Regions from separate parts of the Homo sapiens genome. Here region 1 is linked to region 2. Evidence: promoter capture Hi-C in 16 types of primary human blood cells and fetal thymus (Javierre and others, 2016). All regions are on one chromosome and are shown on one strand. Each heading gives the region's core, a stretch centred on a gene start or on the middle of the fragment in contact. The rest is flanking DNA. Distances are from core to core; before and after follow the strand shown.

What was found. The method cuts DNA at HindIII sites, captures the fragments that hold promoters and counts their contacts. A CHiCAGO score of 5 or more calls a contact.
Region 1: a contact is called between a fragment that was not itself captured here and the fragment with the promoter of SPEM1 in region 2, in 1 of 17 cell types (monocytes). The highest score is 5.4, in monocytes.

Annotation. Positions count from the first base shown.
Region 1 is chr17:7,068,560-7,075,871 of GRCh38, reverse strand. CLEC10A (C-type lectin domain containing 10A) reads left to right here. Exons shown (of 9, transcript NM_001330070.2): 7 at 1-141; 8 at 406-512; 9 at 650-1,335. The coding sequence ends at 818. Among named protein-coding and RNA genes, the nearest start is that of CLEC10A, 8.0 kb to the left of the region's middle. The HindIII fragment of the contact is 5,086 bases long and covers 2,716-7,312 here.
Region 2 is chr17:7,418,824-7,426,010 of GRCh38, reverse strand. It overlaps SPEM1 (spermatid maturation 1), which reads right to left and starts at 5,687. Exons shown (of 3, transcript NM_199339.3): 1 at 5,483-5,687; 2 at 5,324-5,384; 3 at 4,379-5,130. The coding sequence starts at 5,626. The coding sequence ends at 4,406. It overlaps NLGN2 (neuroligin 2), which reads right to left. Exons shown (of 7, transcript NM_020795.4): 7 at 6,151-7,187. SPEM2 (SPEM family member 2) reads right to left here and starts at 395. Exons shown (of 3, transcript NM_175734.5): 1 at 185-395; 2 at 1-18. The coding sequence starts at 322. RefSeq lists an enhancer at 5,684-6,203. The HindIII fragment of the contact is 12,172 bases long and covers 1-7,187 here.

The DNA.
Region 1 (7,312 bases), core at 4,009-6,508, 350 kb after region 2:
ACCTGCTGCCCTGTCAACTGGGTGGAGCACCAAGACAGCTGCTACTGGTTCTCTCACTCTGGGATGTCCTGGGCCGAGGCTGAGAAGTACTGCCAGCTGAAGAACGCCCACCTGGTGGTCATCAACTCCAGGGAGGAGCAGGTGAGGGCTTCTGGTACTCAGTTCCTAAGACATGTCCCATTTAGGGAAATGGTTCTTAAGCTTGGCCGCACATTGGAATCATCTGGGAGCTTCCAGAATGACTGTCATCTGTGCCACACCCTCAGAGATTTAATAGGCCTGAGCATCCAGAGAAACATCTCCAAACTCCTCAGTTGATTTAACGAAGAGCTAAAGTTGAGAATCACTAGTTTAAGGAGTTGGCTGGGATGGGAAGAAGTCACCACTGCCCTTCTGTCACCGCAGAATTTTGTCCAGAAATATCTAGGCTCCGCATACACCTGGATGGGCCTCAGTGACCCTGAAGGAGCCTGGAAGTGGGTGGATGGAACAGACTATGCGACCGGCTTCCAGTGAGTGCACCCTGGCTTTCTGTGCCAATGTCCTCCGTCAGCGTTTCCCCCAGGGATCTGACTGGCAGCCTCTCCTCCCCTGAACTGAATTCTACTCCATCTACCCTTCCTAGCTTGCTGTTGTCTTTTCCTCTCAGGAACTGGAAGCCAGGCCAGCCAGACGACTGGCAGGGGCACGGGCTGGGTGGAGGCGAGGACTGTGCTCACTTCCATCCAGACGGCAGGTGGAATGACGACGTCTGCCAGAGGCCCTACCACTGGGTCTGCGAGGCTGGCCTGGGTCAGACCAGCCAGGAGAGTCACTGAGCTGCCTTTGGTGGGACCACCCGGCCACAGAAATGGCGGTGGGAGGAGGACTCTTCTCACGACCTCCTCGCAAGACCGCTCTGGGAGAGAAATAAGCACTGGGAGATTGGAAGCACTGCTAACATTTTGAATTTTTTTCTCTTTAATTTTAAAAAGATGGTATAGTGTTCTTAAGCTTTTATTTTTTTTCCAACTTTTGAAAGTCAACTTCATGAAGGTATAATTTTTACATAATAAAAATGCACTCATTTAAAGAGTAGAGATGACTTTGACAAATATGCATGCCTAGGTGACTACCACTCCGATCGCAATAGATAACATTGCCATCGCCCCCACCAGTCCCCTCATGCCTCTGGGCAGTCCAACCACTTCCCTGTTTCCAGGCCAGTGATCTACTTCTTTTTCACTATTTATTGGCCTTGCCTCTTCTAGAGCTTCTAGAACTTCATATAAGTGAAATCATACACTCTCGTGTATATACTTCATATAAGTGAATATATACTCTCGTGAGAACTTACGTACTTTGTGTTGCTTGATTTTTGGCAATCTAAAAATGGCAGAGTGGAGAAGCCAGGTGAAGCCTTCGAAAGTCCTATGTGATTGAGAAAATAGCATTTTCTTCTCATATAGATTTGAGTTCAAATCTTTTCTGTCACTTAAAGATGGTATAAACTTAGGGTGATTAGGAAAAGCCATTGTTTAATTTCTCTGAAGATCCCAGAGTTGTTGGGAGATGTAGATAAGATCCCCAGGTGTATTGGTTAGCAATTGGTGTGTAACAAACCACCTCAAAGCTCAGGGCTTATACAGTAAGCATTTATTATAGCTCATGAGGCTATAGGTCTGGTCTGGCCAGGTTTGGGTCATCTTGGCTGGGCTTGTTTATGCGTCCGTGGTCAGCTGGTGGGTTGGCTTGGGGTTGGCTGGTCTAGGGTAGCCTTGCTCCCATGTCTCATATTTGGCTGGCTCTGGGCTGGGACAATGGGGATGACTGGGCCACATTAGCTTAGCCTGGCCTTGTTCACAGAATGGCTGGGTGGGGGTCCAAGAGAGAAATTGGAAGACTGCAAGGACTTCAGAGCCTTGCTTGGAACTGAAGCATCGTTTTTGCTGCATCCTATTGGCCAAAGCAGATTGCAAGGCTGCCCAGGTTCAAGGGCCAGAGAAATAGATTCCACATTTTGGTGGGGGGTTGGGGGGGGGTCTACAAAGTCATACTGTGTAGAGAATGGATATAGAGAGGGGTGGAGATTTCTGTTTTTTCAATCAATCCAGCATATACCAGGGAAGCATCTCAGCTATTTTGATTTTTTTTTTTTTTTTTTTTTTTGAGACGGGAATTTCCTTCTTGTTGCCCAGGCTGGAGTGCAATGGCGTCATCTCAGCTCACTGCAACCTCCGCCTCCCAGGTTCAAGTGATTCTCCTGCCTCAGCCTTCCGAGTAGCTGGGATTACAGGAGCCTGCCACCATGTCTGGCTACTTTTGTGTTTTAAGTAGAGATGGGGTTTCTCCAGGTTGGTCAGGCTGGTCTCCAACTCCCGACCTCAGGTGATCAGCCCGCCTCGGCCTCCCAAAGTGCTGGGATTACAGGCATGAGCCACCACACCCAGCTGCATTTCAGCTATTAAGAACCAACTTTTTAAGTTCATTAAGGGATGGCAGGACCCATTCATTGCTGTATTACTGTACCCAGAAAGCTCCCTGGCATATAGGAATGTCTGAATTAGCTGTCAGGATTTGCTGATGGGTTGTCTGAGGGGTTTGGGAAAATGAGAAAGTCAAGGATAATTCCAGGTTTGGGGCTTGAAAACCTAGAAGGATGGAGTCCCAGTTAATTAAGATGGGAAGACCGTGTGAGAAGCTGGTTTTGTGGGTGGGATGAGGAGATAAGAAGCTTTATTTTGAACATGTTGAGTTTGAGGAGCCTGTTAGACTTCCAAATGGAGTTTATTCTTTTTTATTTTTCTGTGTACCATAGTAAACATTTATAATTTTATTCAAAGGGTTTTTTTTTAATCAGTTCCAGCAAGATACAGGTGTCAAAACCAAAGGATTTATTTCTCTTTCTCTCTCTCTACATATATATATAGAGAGACAGGTTCTTGTTCTGTCACCCAGGCTAGAATGCAGTGGTGCGATCATAGCTCACTGCAGCCTTGAACTCCTGGACTCAAGCAATCCTCTCTTCTCAGCCTCCTGAGTAGCTGAGACTATAGATGTGTGCCCCCATGCCTGGCTAAGTTTATTTTTTGTAGAGATAGGGTCTCACTATGTTGCCCAGGGTGGTTTCAAACTCCTGGGCTCAAGCGATTGTCCTGCCTTGGCCTCCCAAACTGCTAGGATTACAGGTATGAGCTGCAGTGCTTGGCCACAAAAGGGTTTATTGAAAAGAGTTTAATGACATTTACAGAGTGTGAGCAGGGTTGAGGAAGCCAACAAAAGTTGGTGAAGTCCCTGTGGCTAAGAATAGCAGAGACATCACCACTCTGAAGCCTGAAGGCACAAAAGTAAAGAACATCCACCCAGATCATCCACCCAAGCAGCTCTGTGCCTCTCTCCCCTGGGTCTGAAAGATTTTGGATCATGGGAGAGAAGCCACCCAGCAGGAGCGTGAGATCACAGTTCTACCAGGGCCACAGAATGTAGAGGGGAGCAGGAGAACCAATACAAGTCAGTTCCCTCTAGAATTTCCTGACCTGGTAATTCTGCTACCTAAGAAAGCAAACAATTACATTCTCTAGTTTTGTACAGGTAACTGGACGGCGGAGGCAGGGAGGGCATTAGGGAAAATATGGAGAGGGCGACTTTGTGTTATAGGTGGAAATAACTGGGAAGATGGATCACAGATTGAACTAGTTATTGGAGGAGATTGAAATGATCTCTCCACTGACTTCCAGATTGGGTTGGACAGCCCCAAACCAATACAATCCCAGTTCCAGCCCCAACTGCAGTCCCAATGTCGGCTCTAAATTCATCCCTAAATTCAATCTCTGTCCCCACTGCAGCTCCAGCCTAGCTGTACTACACCCCCATGCTCCATCCCACATGTTTCCAATCTCAGCCCCAAACTCAGACCCAACTCCAAAGGAGCCCTGTCTACAATCTTAGCCTGAGACCCAATCTGATTTTTAGCCCCAAGTAAGTCAACCCCATCCTAACCCCAGATACAACCCCAATTGTGATCGCTGTTTCAACCTCACCTGCAAACCCAGCCCCCAGCCACATTCCTAGTTCTCACGCCTGGCTCAGCCACTATCGAATCCTCACTTCCTACCTCAAAACCAGCTCCACACCCACCTCCAGCCCTTATTTCAGGCTCCCCCTCGGAGCCCTTTCTCTGCCTCCATCTCAGCTCCTGCAGCCACAGAGACCACTTGGGCCAAGGATGTCAATGAAGTATGAAGATCTCAAGTGCTTAGAGAGTGAGAAGGAACATGATCTTAGAAAAGGTATGACAGGCCAGGTGCGGCGGCTCACGCCTGTAATCCCAGCACTTTGGGAGGCTGAGGTGGATGGATCACCTGAGGTCAGGAGTTCGAGACCAGCCTGGCCAACATGGCGAAACCCCGTCTCAACTAAAAATAAAAAATTGGGCCGGGTGCAGTGGCTCACACCTGTAATCCCAGCACTTTGGGAGGCTGAGGCAGGCGGATCGTGAGGTCAAGAGATCAAGACCATCCTGGCCAACATGGTGAAACCTGTCTCTACTAAAAAATACAAAAATTAGCTGGGCATGGTGGCGGGTGCCTGTAGTCCCAGCTACTTATTAGGCTGAGGCAGGATAATTGCTTGAACCTGGGAGGCGGAGGTTGCAGTGAGCCGAGATCGCGCCACTACACTCCAGCCTGGCAACAGAGCGAGACTCTGTCTCAAGAAAAAAAAAAAAAAGAAAAAGAAAAGGTAAGACAAGCAGAAGACCCCAGAGACAGGCCCACCCCTCAAAGTTTGCAGAGGCCTGAGCTAGTTCCTCTTGAGCTCACTTCCCTTTGCTCCCTTCCCTCAGCTCAGTCTTGCACCTTGAGGAGCCTGGGGGACACGTGAGGACACCTTCAGCATGGTCCACACCCTCCATTCACCCCCCCAACCTCTGCCCATGGCTACCACTTGAGCCTCAGGGTGGGCACACCAGGAGCAGGGTCTGCCACCCAGGGGACAGGCCCGGGGAAGACAGGTGTACAGCTGCCTGGGTGGACGATCTGGGCTCCCAGGTACCCAGAGGATGGTCTAGAAGGGCAGGTATGGCTTGGGGTGAGCACATCACCTTGGCCCTGGAGATTCCCAGTCCCACAGGAAGGGATGGAGTCACAGGAGGGCCAGTGAGGGCCCTCTAAAGTGTGAAGCCCAGGAGGTCTAGTCTAAGGATGGTGCCTCTCTCAGAGACAGTAACTCTTTCTTTCTTTCTTTCTTTCTTTCTTTCTTTCTTTCTTTCTTTCTTTCTTTCTTTCTTTCTTTTCTTTCTTTTCTTTCTTTTCTTTCCTTTCTTTTCTTTTCTTTCTTTCCTTCTTTTCTTCCTTTCCTTTCTTTTCTTTCTTTTCCTTCTTTCCTTCTTTCTTTTTTTTTTTTTTTTGATGGAGTTTTGCTCTTGTTGCCCAGGCTGGAATGCAATGATGTGATCTCGGCTCACTGCAGCTTCCACCTCCTGGGTTCAAGTGATTCTCCTGCCTCAGCCTCCTGAGTAGCTGGGATTACAGGTATGCGCCACCATGCCTGGCTAATTTCATATTTTTAGTAGAGACGGGGTTTCTGCACGTTGGTCAGGCTGGTCTCGAACTCCCAACCTCAGGTGATCCTTGGCCTCCCAAAGTGCAGGGATTATAGGCGTGAGCCACCGCGCCCGGCCGACAATGCCTCTATCTGCAATGAGGGGTTTCTCATGTCTCCCCTGTGCTGTAGCTCCAGGGCTCCTGGTTTTGGTCATTTCTGTGACTCCAGTATGGACTGTGGAGATCCCCCTCTCTGAGGGTTCAGGGCCTGGCCTCTGTGGTCCTAGTCTTCAGGGGAGTTAGGGTCCTCAGTGGCACAGGGACAGGAAGCAGGAAAAACATGGGTTATTTAGGAAAGTCTTCAAAGGAAGACCATAATTTCACCTGCTTTCACAGATGAGCGTGAGCCTATGAAGGGCCTGGCTGCCCCCAGCTCTCCCTGTGTCCTTCTGCCCCTTCCTCAGCTCTGACCATGGGACCTCACATATCTCCATTATCCCCCATCTGTGTGTGTGTGTTTGGTGGTCCCCACGGGTGTGAGGGGCCTGTGTGACTGAGGACTTGTGCTGGTCCCTGAGGTCAAAGGCCTGGGCATCCCCCACCCTGAAATCCTTCCCATCCCGCCCTTTCCTGGTGTCCTTTATGCTCAGCCCTCCTCTCTAGACAGCTCCCTGGCCCCTCTCCTCTTCCCGTCTCTGTCATGTCCTGGACGCTCCTCGTCTTGACACCCCCTCCTCCTGAGGGCTGCCTCCTCCCCAGGCCCTCCTGCAGCATCTGCACTCTGGGACTGCCTCCTCCTGCTGTCCCTGTGCCTCGGCCTCCTGCTCCTGGTTGTCATCTGTGTGGTCCGATCCCAAAGTGAGGGTCACGGGGTGGACAGAGAAGACAGAAATAATGGGGTGTAGTGGTGTGGTGGTAATGGTGAGGTACAGGTTTAGTGATGGATGGTCAGAGAAAAAGTCTTTTTTTTGCAAGAAAAAATCTTGCAAAAGTGTTGGAGCAGTGGTGGGACAGTGATGTGGTTTGAATCTATCCCTGCTCAAACCTCATGTTCAGTTGCGATCCCCAATGCTGGAGGCCTGTTAGGAGATAAATGGATCATGGGAGCAGTTTCTCATGGTTTAACACCATCCCCCTTGGTACTTCTGTCATGGTAGTGAGTTCTCGTGAGATCTAGTTGTCTAAAAGTGTGTAGCACCTCCCTGCTCTCTTTTCCTCCTGCTTCGGCCATGTAAGATGTCATATTTCCCCTTTACCTTCCGCCATGATTGTAAGTTTCCTGAGGTGTCTCGAGAAGCCAAGCAGATGCCACCATCCTTGCTGTATAGCCTGCAGAACCGTGAACCAATTAAACCTCTTTTCTGTATAAATTACCCAGTCTCAGGTATTTCTTTATAGCAGTGTGAGAACAAACTAATAAAATGGTACCAAGATGTGGAGCATTGCCATAAAGATACCTGAAAATGTGGAAGTGACTTTGGAACTTGGTAATGGGCAGAGGTTGGAAAAGTGTGGAGGGCTCAGAAGAAGACAGGAAGGTGAGGGGAAGTTTGGAACTTTCTAGAGACTTGTTGAATGGTTGTGACCCAAATGCTGGTAGTGATATGGACAGAGATGGCCAGACCAATGAGGTCTCAGATGGAGATGAGAAACTTATTGTGAATAGGGACAAAGGTACTTTTTTTATACTTTGGCAAAAATTTTGGTTGGATTGTGCCCATGCCCTAGGGATCTATGGAACCTTGAACTTGAGAGAGATGATTTAAGGTATCTGGTGGAAGAAATTTCTA
Region 2 (7,187 bases), core at 4,438-6,937:
CTGGAGTCCATGCCACATCTGGGGCAGGGTGGAAGAGAGTGAAGGCCAGGCCCTCCGCGCCCAGCACCACCACCCCTGCCCCCGCCCCAATCTAGACCGCACCTGCAGGTGGAGATGTAGGCTGCAGCTGGCTCCCACCCTTGGCCCTGTTCACCCCCAGAGGTAGTCCACAATCATCACTGACCATAGTTGCCACGTTGATGCCAATGTTGACAAGAACGATGAGGCCCAGCAGCAGGAGTAAGATGTCCTCGGCATCGTGGGGGCTTTCTTGGTATTGATTGCAACATCTCACGGTGTTATGCCATAGCTGGTTTTCCATGGAGGGGGGGTCCTAGGGCCACCTGGGCCACCCCCCTCTGCCCCCCACCCCCGGCCCCAACCCACACTGCACTCATGCCAATCCCCGGAGATAACTACAAGCTGGTAAGGGAGCCAGGTCACAATGAGGTGAGCTAGCGAGAGTCACAATGTGGAGGTGGCAGCTTTTATCCATTCTGCTGGCCCCTTCTACCGCCATCTCCACCCTTGGCTCCTACTTGGTGGAGCCTGGTCCCCACATATCCCAGATCTCAGTCTGTTCCTCTATCTCCACGAGGTTTGCTTAACCCCACAGCTGGTTCCTGAGCTGAAGATAGGGTAGTTAGAGGCTGACACGGTCGTCACAGGGTTGAAGCATGCATCAGATATGTCCTGTTTCATTGTTCTTTTGAGACATTATGGCAACTTACATAGCCTGTTGGCGTGCCTTGCCCCATGGTTACTTTGGGGCCAGCATCTAGGGTGACTAGATGGGCGGGTGACACTGCGTCCCCTCAGGCATCACCCTGCTGTACCAGCCCCTCCCTACTCTGCCCATTTCCCTGTCAAAAGTCCTCTAGCTCCCATCTCTGCCCAATTCTTCCTGGCCAGACTCCAGCCCTAGGTGTTGGTGGTCCTTGAGCCCACCAGCCACTTCGTCACACTGACATCTGACTCACTGAGGTGGCTGCCTCTGCTGGGAACCAACCCCAGCCATGGTTTCTCCAACCTAACCACCTACACTCCCACCAACCCACCCTTACTCCAAGGTGAAAAACGGTTAAGCTACTACCTGAAGAAAACCCGAGCTGGGCGCGGTGGCTCATGCCTATAATCCCAGCACTTTGGGAGGCTGAGGTGGCTGGATCACCTGAGGTCAGGAGTTCCAACCTGGCCAACATAGTGAAACCCCGTCTGTATTAAAAATACAAAAATTAGCTGGGTGTGGTGATGCGCGCCTGTAGTCCCAGCTACTCGGGAGGCTGAGGCAGAAGAATCATTTGAACCCAGGAGGTGGAGGTTGCAGCAAGCTGAGCTCTCGCCATTGTACTCCAGCTTGGGTGACACATCGAGAATCTGTCTCCAAAAAAACAAGAAAGGAAGGAAGGAAGGAAGGAAGGAAGGAAGGAAGGAAGGAAGGAAGGAAGGAAGGAAGGAAGGAAACTTGCTGGGCGCAGTGGCTCACGCCTATAATCCCAGGCAGGTGGACCACCTGAGGTCAGGAGTTTGAGACCAGCCTGGCCAACATGGCGAAACCTCTACTAAAAACACAAAAATTAGCTGGGCATGTTGGTGGGCGCCTGTAATCCCAGCTACTTGGGAGGCTGAGGCAGGAGAATTGCTTGAACCTGAGAGGTGGAGGTTGCAGCGAGCCAAGATCGCGCCACAGAAGTCCGGCCTGGGTGACAGAGTGAGACTGTCTCAAAACAAACAAACAACCCAACAACAACAACAACAACAACAAGAAAACCACATGAAATTAACAAAGCACAAAATACATGTAATTGTTAATATACCAAAAAGAGTGTTTGACTTAAAACAGGTGCATCACTGGGGTCTGTGGTGCCCTGGAGACTGCAAGCCATTTGTTTACACAGTGAACCACTCAGCAGAAAGAAAGGCCAGTGATCATATCCCATCCAGCCTCCAAACACAGAGTAGATGCAGAGTAGATTCAGATTCCACTGAATGGAATCCATTGAAAATGATCAGTAACGTTAGTTGAATGAGAGAAGTAGGGCCATTTGTAAACGGTCCGTCTGCTCACATTCCAGGAATCTGTCTAGAGTGGAAGGTGAAGTCCAGCTCCCTCAGCCTGGGCTCACGCACACAGCTGCTTGTTCTCAAGTGGTATGTGTGTGCATGTGCATATGATCCCAATTGTGTAGCAGAAAGGCAGGGCCTGAGTTTCTCTGTTTCTCAGTTTCTGAGTTCACATGGTGAACTGGGGAAGGTGGGAGGTTCTGGTGGGTCAGGCTGGCTCTGCAGCAATGGGATGGAGCATCTGAGGCCATGAGCTTGATCCTCAGTGTCTGTGTAACCATGAGCAAGACCCTTAGCTTCTCTGAACTTAGTCTCCTCACTGGTGACATGGTGAGTTAATCAAAGGAGTGAGGTCACAGAGAGCTGTGATGTTACAGTGAGGTACCTCTTGAGGGGGGCCCCAATATTTCTCTTCTTTTTTTTTTTTTTTGAGATGGAGTCTCGCTCTGTTGCCCAGGCTGGAGTGTAGTGGTGCAATCTCGGCTCACTGCAAGCTCCGCCTCCTGGGTTCACACCATTCTCCTGCCTCAGCCTCCCAAGTAGCTGGGACTATAGGCGCCCACCACCACGCCCGGCTAATTTTTTGTTTTCATATTTTTAGTAGAGATGGGGTTTCACCATGTTAGCCAGGATGGTCTCAATCTCCTGACCTTGTGATCTGCCCGCCTCGGCCTCCCAAAATGCTGGGATTACAGATGTGAGCCACCACGCCCGGCCTTTTTTTTTTTTTTTGATGGAGTCTCGCTCTGTCGCCCAGGCTGGGGTGCAGGGGCGCCATCTTGGCTAACTGCAACCTCTGCCTCCCACGTTCACACCATTCTCCTGCCTCAGCCTCCCAAGTAGCTGGGACTACAGGCGCCCACCATCATGCCCAGCTAATTTTTTTATTTTTTATTTTTCATTTTTTAGTAGAGACGGGGTGTCACTGTGTTAGCCAAGAGGTCTCGACCTCCTGACCTCGTGATCCGCCCGCCTCGGCTTCCCAAAGTGCTGGGATTACAGGCGTTAGCCACTGCGCCCAGCCAAGGGGGCCCCAATATTTCCTCCTCTGCTCCAATCCTGCTTAAGGGTATAGGACCTTCAGGGTGACTGGGGAACTGTGAAGGACTAGACGCCCTCTCAGCCATCCCTCCCCAAATAAATCAGGGCTTACGTGGGAACCAGGCCTCACCGGTGGCTGCAGCCTAACGCTGGGCTCTGGCAGGCACCAGCCTTCTGAGGAGCTAGGGCCATGGAGATGGAGATCTCTCCTCTAGTGCACGACTGCCTGGGGACCTGGGGTAGAATTTAGGGGCTTCTCTGTGCACTAAAGAAAACAAGGAATTAACTGGGCGTGGTGGTGCCTGTTGTCCCAGCTACTCAGGAGGCTGAGGCAGGAAGACTGCTTGAGCTCAGGAGGTTGAGTCTCCAGTGAGCCATGATTGCACCACTGCCCTCCAGCCTGAGTGACAGATCAAGACCCTGCCTCAGGGGAGGGGGAGGAAACAGTCCGGGCACAGTGGCTCACACCTGTAATCCCAGAACTTTCAGAGGTTGAGGCAGGCAGATCGATTGAGCCCAGGAGTTTGAGACCAGCCTAGGCAAAGTAGTGAAACCCAATCTCTACAAAAAATAGTGGTGCGGCTGGGGTGGGGTGGCTCACACCTGTTATCCCAGCACTTTGGGAGGCTGAGGCGGGCGGATCACCTGAGGTCAGGAGTTCAAGACCAGCCTGGCCGACATGGCAAAACCCCATCTGCACTAAAAATACAAAAATTAGCAGGGCATGGTGGCACACGCCTGTAGTCCCAGCTACTCAGGAGGCTGAAGGCAGGAGAATTGGTTGAACCTGGGAGGCAGAGGTTGCAGTGAGCCAAGATTGTGCCATTGCAGTCCAGTGTGGGTGACAAGAATAGGACTCTGTCTTAAAAACAAAAACAACCCCCCCCACACAAAAACCAACCAACCGAACAAACAACAACAACAACAACAAACTAGTGGCCCATGCCTGTAGTCCTAGTGACTCAGGAGGCTGAGGTGGGAGACAGTTGGGACTGCAGTGAACTGTGATTGCACCACTGCACTCCAGCCCGGGCAACAGAGAAGACCCTGTCTCAAAAAAAAAAAAAAATTGAAAACAAGGTAGAGGCAGGTAAGAGCCTTGGAACCCAGAAGGGCCTAGGAAAGGCTGAGGACAGGGACAGGCCTGTGGGGCAAAAGGTTAATGAGGGTCCTCAGGGCTCAGGGCCCTGTGGCTAGGGAGAGCATTCTCTTCACAGCCACAGCTTCTAGGTGCTGTGTGGGCCCTGGCACCCCAGCACCACCACAGATCACCTCCTCTCTCCTTTTTATTTTTTTCCAGTCACCTCCCAGTTAGGGAACGGTACACCCAATTCTTGCTTGTCTCCTCGGCAGTGCTGGATCCAGAGGCTAGGGGGTAGCAGCCGGACAGGGCCTCCACCTCCCGGGTCAGTTCCCGAAGCCGCCGTCTCATGTCCCGGGCATCATACACTATTCGGCCTGAGGAGCGGTGCCGGGAAAATTCAGGGATGACTGCTGGGCCCAGGGTGGGAGCTGGGACAGGCTGGTACTGAGCCGCCTCTGCCTCTGGCACCGCCCCCTCCCCACCGTTCTTGTGGCTAGGAGCCTCAGGGCTGGGAGGTGGGGGGTTCACAGGATACACATAGGCCCTTAGGCCCAGCTCGGACCATATGCCTGTTTTGAGGGGCCTTTCCTCTACGGTAGGCTGGAAGCGGATGGTCTGGGGAGGGGACTCTGGGGCATCCTGAGACCAGGGAACCCAGGTCCCCTGAGTGTGTTGGAAGCCTTCCCAGTCCTCAGGGACATCCCAGTGGTAGGAGCAGATGGCTGGGTACTGATGAGGCTTCTCGTCATCAGTGTCAGGAGCCCAAGCTACTGGGCAGTGAGCACAGCGTGTGGGAGAGCCTCGACGGCGATGGCGGTGAGCTGGGGGCGGGGACACAGTCATCATCACAGGGTCCATGGTGCACCGAAGATGGACTGCAGGAGAACTCTGCTTCTTAGGGGGCTGGGTCTGCTTTCTGAGTAATGATGACTTGGGAGCTTCTGTGGATGGGGGAGAGGTGAGACTAGTGGGGAGGCCAGCTCCTACAGGCATGGAGAGGCAGGGCCCAGGAAGGGCAGCCACACAGCTATGTTGTCTGAGAGGGGCGAGCAAGAAGGGAAGGGGCTAATTTAGGGCTGAGGCTAGAGCACTTGGTTTCTGCCCCTCCTATGTCCCAGCCCCCAGACCTCTTACCTTTCTCACAAATGGTATCATGGAACACTTGGTATAAGACACCACGGAATCGGCTCCAGAGCTAGGTGGGGGAAGACACAGTGATCCCAGGTAGGCCCTGGCCGGCAGGCCTGCCCCCCACTATCCCACCAGCTCCCTCCCATCTGGCCCCACCCTGACCAGGGTCACTATATTGATGCTAATGTTAATGCAGATGATGAGGCCCAGCAGCAACAGGACAGAGTTGCCCAGGTCCTGGCAGCTGTTGCTGTTGCAGTTGTGATACGAGGCCCACTCGGGCCTCGGCCGCTCAACCATGGCCATGGGGTCCCTAGGACCACCGGGGCCCTTACGCCCCCAGCCCACCGTGCCGACAGTGTCCACTGACTGCCTGCCTGTCCCTGAGGGTCTTGGGAGTGAACGGGTCACAATGGTGCCAGGCCACTCCCTTCCAGTGTGCCAAGGGGCTACCCTGAGTCCTGGACCCGTGGCTGACCCTCTCGCCTGAGTCCAGGCCTTGGCAGAGGCCATGCCTCTCACCTCACATACCTCTGCTGAGCTAGCTGCCTACACCAGCCCACTGGGCCTCTGGCCTGTTTGACATCTGCCCCCATCAGCCTTTGTCCTTCCATTATAGAACGACACCAGGCTCCAGTCTCGGCATAGACACGGGTCCTGACATTCATTTGCCAAACAGACCCATTACCATGGCAACCAGACCCCAGCACACACTCCCCCTTCCTCTCAGACCTCAGAGCTGGTCACTGAAAAGACCCCTCCTCCCTCGTCACTTCCCCAGGGCTTGTTTCTTTAGAGACCGCCCTCCCCACAACAGAGCAGGCACAACCAACAGTTAAACTTTTATATTTACAATATTCTCTTCATCTTTTGCCAGGTTTAAAAATGTGTACAGAGCCGCAAAGGGTTGGGGTAGGGATAAGGGATTGTCGGGATTGTTTTGGGGAGAGGAGCTGGGCATTGGAGTCCGTGGCTGAATCATGGGGTCCCCCAGCCCCCCTCCCATGCCCCAATTCTGAGGGCATCTGTCTACAGGGTTCAGGGCCCAGGTCTCTAGCATTTGGAGGGCATGGCTGTTTGGAGAGGAGCTAGACCAGGCAGGGGAAAGGATCAGAAAATAACTAATTTTCCATGGATGGAGGTAGGAAGAGAAGGGACAGTCAAGAGGCAAAGTTCTGGGGACTCAAGACCAGGGATTCTGGATTTGGGTGTCAGTGGAAGACAGCACCCCAGCCCCTATTCAAGTTTGGCACTAACACCCCACAAAATGCCAGCAGATGAGGACTCTCCCCTCGTCCACTGTGTCCCTTAAGCCCTTCCAGACATCATTCTTTTCCCAAATGCCCAAGCCCAAGGCCCTCCGGGGAGTCACCTCACACATTTCAAATTATTCCTGCTGGTGTCTGCCCAAGCCCTGTCCCCACTGCCCCCTCCATCTGTTCCCCAGCACCGCTGACCTCATTCTCCCAACCTGTCCGGTGAGACCTTTCTCCCCACTGCCTCCCTCCACCATTCAAGGCTCCTTTCTTTCAGACAAGGAGGGGGCGTGGGTCAGAGGAGGGTGGTCAGCTGAGGAGAAGGCTGGTCTGACACTGAGATGGGGACAGCTTCAAAGAGGGGGACGGAGATGAAGGGGAACGGAGAACTGAGGCAGGGTGGGGGAGACATGGTGAGGAGAAGGGGCACAGGCGGGAGCCCCCTCACCTGCCACATCCCTCGCCCTGTATCCTGCTTGCCCTTAGTTTCCCCTGCCCTGCCTGGGACTGGGAAATTCTTGGCACATTTTGGGAGTCTTTCCGCTCAAATCCACCTACCCAGTTTGGCACGGATGAGCAATGCTCTGAGGCCTGGGGAAAAGGCTGTCCTC